Linked DNA regions of Homo sapiens: region 2 is linked to region 1. The links are contacts of gene promoters, found by promoter capture Hi-C in blood cells and fetal thymus (Javierre and others, 2016). All regions are on one chromosome and are shown on one strand. Each heading gives the region's core, a stretch centred on a gene start or on the middle of the fragment in contact. The rest is flanking DNA. Distances are from core to core; before and after follow the strand shown. Region 1 holds the start of GNAS (GNAS complex locus). Region 2 has its middle 120 kb from the start of EDN3.

Region 1 (2,614 bases), core at 1-2,500:
CCGGGACACGTCTGCTCCGCGCACACACAGTCAGTCGGTCCTGCCCGAAACGCACCAAGTCGCGCCCAGCGGCAACCGCCCTCCCTCCTCCCCTCGCCGCCCCCCTCCCGACTCCGGCGCCACGACTCCCTTGCGCCCCCTCCCCCCCACTGCACCACCTTTACCGCTCCGATCCTTTCCGAGGGGCTGATGTCACCAGCCCCCCCACTCTCCTCGGCCACTTCTCCCCGCCAAAGCCTCCCTTTGGCGAGGCCCCCTCCGCCACCACGGCGCCCCCCAGCGTCACCCCCTCCTCTCCTCGCCCCTTTCTTCCCCTCTTTCCCTCTCCCAACAAATCTCACACCCCACGGAGGCGGGTCCCCCTCCCTCTACCCGCCACCCGGTTTCCTGTCCCCGAAACCCTCTTTTTGTCGCAGTCTCCGGAGCCCCATGGGCTCCCCCTCCCCCTCCCCAACACGCACCCAAACCCCTGGCGTCGTGTAGGCCTCGCGGAAAAAGAGAGAAAGAGAGAAAGAGGGGGAGAGCGAGAGCGAGAGCAAGAGAGAGACACTGAGCGGGCAGGCCGGGGGAGGGGGACCCGCGCCCGCGTCGCCACGGCCCCCCGCCCCGTTTTTGAGCCCCCGCCCGGCCGAATCCGCGCCCCTGGGTCCCCCTTCCGGCCTCGCCCCCCACAGACAGAGCCCGCGAACGGGCGGGGGGCTCGGGAGCGCGCGCCCGGGGCGGGGGGCGGGCTCGGCGCGCGCGGCCTGCGGGGCGCCCTTCGAGGGCCCCCGGGCCGGGGCCGGCGCCCCCCGCCCGCCCTTACCCAGCAGCAGCAGGCGGTGCGTGGCCCGGTAGACCTGCTTGTCCTTCTGCAGCTGCTTCTCGATCTTTTTGTTGGCCTCACGCTGCGCCTTCTCCTCGTTGCGCTGGTCCTCGGTCTTACTGTTCCCGAGGCAGCCCATGGCGGCGGCGGCGGCGGCGGGGCGCGGCCGGGCTGCGGCGGCGGCGGGCGCGGGCGGCCTCACGCGGGCCGGGAGGGCCGGGGCAGCGCCGGGCGGGCGGGCCGGGCGCGGGCTCGGCTCCTCGGCAAGGAGCGCGCGGGGCGGACTGCGGGCCGCGGGCCGCGGGGCGCGCGGACGGGCGGGAAGGGGAGGGTGTCGGTCGGACCGAGGGGCGCGCGCAGCTCCCCGCCCCTCGAGCCGAGGCCGAGGGGGCTGATGGCCGCCGCCGGGCCGAGGCGGACCAGAGCAGGAGCTGCGGGAGCTGCTGCCGCCGCTGCCGCCGCCGCCGCTCTTATTGCCTCGGCCGGGCCCCCGCCGCCGCCCCGAGCCAAAAGCGCCGCGGCGGGCGGGGGGAGGCGGGGGGAGGAGGAGGCGGCGGCGGCGAGGGGGGTGGAAGGAGGAGGAGGAGGAGGAGGGCCGAGGAGCGGCCGCGGCGGCGGCGGCGGCTGGGAGGGCGGGAGCCGGCGGAGGGAGGCGGCCCCCCGGGAGCCCGGGGAGGGGGTCCCTCCGCCCGCGCCCGGCCGGGGACGGGACGGGCCGGGGAGACGCCCCCCACCCCCCGGGCTCGGGCAGCAGCCCGGCTGAGCCGAGGGGGGAGAGGGGGCGTCTCCGCGCCAGTGACGACCCCTCGCACGACGCCAACGCTCCACCCCCCGGACCGCGTCGCCCGGCGCCCCCGAGGCCTCCTCCCCCTCCCGCGGGCGCCGCCGAGGGGCTGGGGTGGGCGGAAGGGGAGGGAGCGCGCGCCCGGACTTAGGAAAATTTTCGAAAGAGCGAGAGACACAGAGAGCCAGAGAGCAGGAGTGTGGAAAAAGCGAGGCGAGCACGAACCAAAGGACAGAGCAACCGAAAAGGAAAATGTGTCCACACACACACACGAACACGAATAAAAACCCACACTACACAGCGATGGTGGTGTCTGGTGGCGGTGGCGGGGTGGGGGGTCTGACTAGATGAGCCGCTCCTCGCGCCCCCGGCGCCGGGCGCCATGGCCCGAGCCGAAGGCGCCTCTGGCCCCGGAGCGCCCGCGGCCTCTGCGCTTGGCGCGGCCGCCCAAGTAGGAGAAGAAGGCGCAGCCCAGGAACACTCGGAAGCAGCAGGTCGCCCCGAACACGAAGCCGCAGCCGCGGCCCTGCTCCGTGCGCTTCTGCAGCAGGAAGTTGAGCACCCACGAGGGGCTGCGCACCGAGAAGACCAGGAACACCACGAGGGGCAGGTGGGCGCTCAGCGCGCCAGCCTTGAGCGGCCCGGGCCGCCACACGATGCCCCCAACGCGCGGCGCCGCGTAGTAGGCGTCGTCCTCGTCGCTCGAGTCCGTGTCCCAGTCAGCCCAGGCCCTACTCGTGCCCCCGGCGGCGGCGCCCTCCTCGGCGCCCCCGACGGCGCCCTCCTCGGCGCCCTCGTCGTCGTCGGCGGCGGCCGCGGCGGCGGCGGCCTCGGGGCATCGGGCCTCCTCCTGGGCTTCTGGCACCTTCTTCTTCTTCTTCTTCAGCATCTTCTCCATCTTCTTCCTCTCCTTCTCCTTCTTCTTCTCCTCCTTTCGCCTCTGCTCCAGCAGCTTCTTCTCGAGCTTCTTGCGCTCCTTGTCTGTTAGGAACTTTTCGGGGAGCGCCTCCCGCGCCGGGTTCTTG
Region 2 (3,386 bases), core at 277-2,776, 530 kb before region 1:
CCCCTCCTGCACAAATCAAGGTCCATCCAGGGGATGGTCTGGATAGACGGTCTCCACGCCTACTCCAAGGAACCCATCCTGAGTTGGGATGAGACAGGGAGACGAAGAATTCTTCCCCACAAAGATAACACCAGATGTGAGGTCAGGAAACATGACCGGGTGAAGGGAAGAAGTGTGCCTGGAGCGTCTCTCTAGAACCCAGAGTCACCTTGGCCCTCCGTCACTCATCAGCTCTCCATGGCTCTGCCTACAGAACAAAGCCTGAATGGCCCAAGGCAGGGTTTGCTCTCTGCCCTGCACAGTGCTTGGCATATAGTGGGTGCCCAGTGGATGTGGGTGGAAGGAATGAACAAATGACATTCTCTGGGTGGCTTTCAAGACCCCCAGCATCTACTCAAACTTGTCTCCACTTCACCTTGGCTACAACCACAGGACACTCCTCCCCAGTGCCTGCTCTTTTGGGGAGCATCTCCCCTACCTAAGACCTTCAGCCACTCTTTGCACTGGACCACACCAGTGGCTGCCATCTCTCTCCTTCCCTGAAATCTACAAGTGGTGTTGTCCAGCGCCTTTATTTGGGATTATACTCTCCATGATTCTGCACGATCCCAGGGCCCCAAATATGTAGACACCCTGTCCCAGATTGCTATGACTACCACGACCCCAGGCACAGTAAAGAACCCTCTTCTCCAGAATCCAAGTGTACTTTTCCCTCTTTGAACATATTTTGGGAGGATTCTGTCATTGGGACCCTCTTTAACCTACACTGTCATTCTTTCTCTCATTTTCTCACCATCTTCGGCATTTCTATTTACAAGATTTTCTTCTCTTCTCTCATCAGTTACCCAATTCCTGGCGGTTCTGGCAATATCTTGACTGTACTGGAAGCCCGCTGGTCAAGATCAAGCTACCTTTAGGAACCCTGTTGGCTCCTAGTTCCTACCACACAATAAGCATGCTCTGAAACACAAACAGGAGGCTGCAAGAGCAACAGGGAACAGCAAGGAATGAGGCGCAATCATTCCATGGACAACTTCATGGTTATCCTTGGACTGAGTTCTGCCACGTCTCAGCATCTGAGGCCATCTGCAGAGCATTTGATGGAAAAAGGATAGGCGGTCTCTGAAACCTTCAGACAAGAGGCGCCGTCCAAATCATTTGTGACTTTTATTCTTCAATGTTTAATTGTACCTCCTCTGGGATAATATGGCCAATTTTTGAAAAACAACCATAGCAATAAATTTCCCATAATTTACTGCCAGATTAATAGTTTTGTAGTCAAGCTATTATTGTTTTAATAAGAAGAGAAAAAGAAAAACATGTGAAGAGGCTCTGTATGTTCCAGGGTGAGCTCATCAAGGCAGCCCGCTGGACATGCTGGGCAGGGAAAGCAGCCAGCGTGCCCCAGATGGTGGGGCCCTGGGGTCTCACGGGGAGGGGAGACAGGACCCTCGGCTGGGTGTTTGCCATCTACCCCTCACCCCACCAGGAGCAGCCTGAGCACAGGGGTCTCTGAGCTGCCTGGGTAAGACTCTCTAGATAGGTAAAGGAGAAATTTATTCTGCCCATGAAGGCAGGTAACATGGTCTTCCGGGAAACTCTACCTGCCTTTGTGTCACTCTTGGACAAGGACATTAGCCAGTGACACATCCATGATTTTGCCTCCTCTAGAACTGGGCAAGGGTTCCTAGTGGCAGGGTGGGGACAGGGTGGGCTCTGAGCCATTGGTTGGCAAAACATTGCTCCTCTGATGGCTTTATCTGGTGTCTCATGGCTTCTTCTCATCTCAGGCTTCACAACCATCATACTAACACAGCACCTTGAAAATTCAAAGACACAGCAATCCACAGAAAGACATACACGGAACCGTAAAAGCATCTTGCTGGCCTGGCGCAGTGACTCACACCTGTAATCCCAGCACTTTGGGAGGCTGAGACAGGTGGATCATCTGAGGTTGGGAGCTTGAGACCAACCTGGCCAACAGGGTGAAACCCCGTCTCTACTAAAAATACAAAAATTAGCAGGGCATGGTGGCATGCATCTGTAATCCCAGCTACTCAGGAAGCTGAGGCAGGGAAATTGTTTGAAGCTGGGAGGTGGAGGTTGCAGTGAGCCAAGATCGTGCCACTGCACTCCAGCCTGGGTGACAGAGTGAGACTCCATAAAAAAAAAAAAACAAAAAAAAAACACCTCTTGCTAAGTAAAAGAAGCCAGTTTGAAAAGTCCACATGCTGTGTGAGTCCAACTAGATGACATTCTGGAAAATTCAAAACTATAGAGACGTCAAAAGATCGGTGGTTGTTAGGAGTTCAAGGGGGAGGGAGGGACGAACAGGTGGAGCTCAGGAGATGTTTAGGGCAGTGAAATGACTCTGTATGATCCTGTAATTGAGGGCACGTGACATTATACATTTGTCAAAACCCATAGAATGTACACCACCAAGAGTCAACCCTCTTATGAACTTTAACTGATAATAATGCATCAATATTGGTTCATCAACTGTAACAAGTGTAGCATGCTAAGGCAAGATGTTAATGAAAATAGGATTATTGGGGGAGGGGTATGGGGCATGTGTGGGAACTCTCTGTGCTTTCTGTTCAATTTTTCCCTAAATGTAAAACTGCTCTAAAAAACCCAATCCTAGGGAATGTGCTTTGAAGCAAGATTCATCGCTGTCCCTTCCACTTCCCTGTGAGTAGCTCTTGTCTGGATCACCATCACCCCAACATCCCAGCCATGGGCCTCACTGGCTCTGCAGAATGCAATCATTCCCCAACCCTCTGAATCCATCTCCACCTGCTCTCTCCATCCTGTGACTTCTCCAGTTCAGGCACCACCCTCTCCTATCAGGCATTGTATTTTACCTCCTAGTGGGCCTTCAACTTTCCTGCTTTGGTCTAGAACAGTAGGAGCCTGCTCAGAACCCACCAAGCACAGGCCTTGCCAACTACTTGCCAGGCACACGGGGCTCTTCATGGTGGGGCCGCATGTGCCCACCCGCGCCTCTCCCTGGGGTGCCCAGCTCTGCTTCTCTCCTATGGCCCTCACAGATGCCCCTGCCCTCCCAGCCCGAAGCTCTGGCACCAAGCATGACGTATCACACACCATTTAGGTGACCACCTCTCTCCACAGATAGTGAGCTCCGATAATGCCTAGGTCTGGTCACTTTCACATTCCGGCCCTGACCCCCTACTCCCTGAACCTTGGGGATTGGCAATAAGTCCCACTGCAGTATTTGTTGGATGAAGTGCAATTGGCCATCATCAAACCTAACATTCTAGACCCATGGAGTAGCCGAATCTCCGTGCTCCTCACCCAGAGGACAATTTGTACACTGGCGCCAGTGGCTTAGAAAGCTACGTTAAGCATCTTTGCAATTCCGCCAC

What was found. The method cuts DNA at HindIII sites, captures the fragments that hold promoters and counts their contacts. A CHiCAGO score of 5 or more calls a contact.
Region 2: a fragment that was not itself captured here is called in contact with the fragment with the promoter of GNAS in region 1 in 1 of 17 cell types (naive CD8 T cells); the score reaches 5.7 in naive CD8 T cells.

The regions. Positions count from the first base shown.
Region 1 is chr20:58,890,057-58,892,670 of GRCh38, reverse strand. GNAS (GNAS complex locus) reads right to left here and starts at 1,250. Exons shown (of 13, transcript NM_000516.7): 1 at 806-1,250. The coding sequence starts at 944. RefSeq lists silencers at 93-182, 1,053-1,272, 1,283-1,782, 1,843-1,992. The HindIII fragment of the contact is 29,581 bases long and covers 1-2,614 here.
Region 2 is chr20:59,415,173-59,418,558 of GRCh38, reverse strand. No RefSeq gene overlaps it. Among named protein-coding and RNA genes, the nearest start is that of EDN3, 120 kb to the right of the region's middle. The HindIII fragment of the contact is 6,355 bases long and covers 1-3,386 here.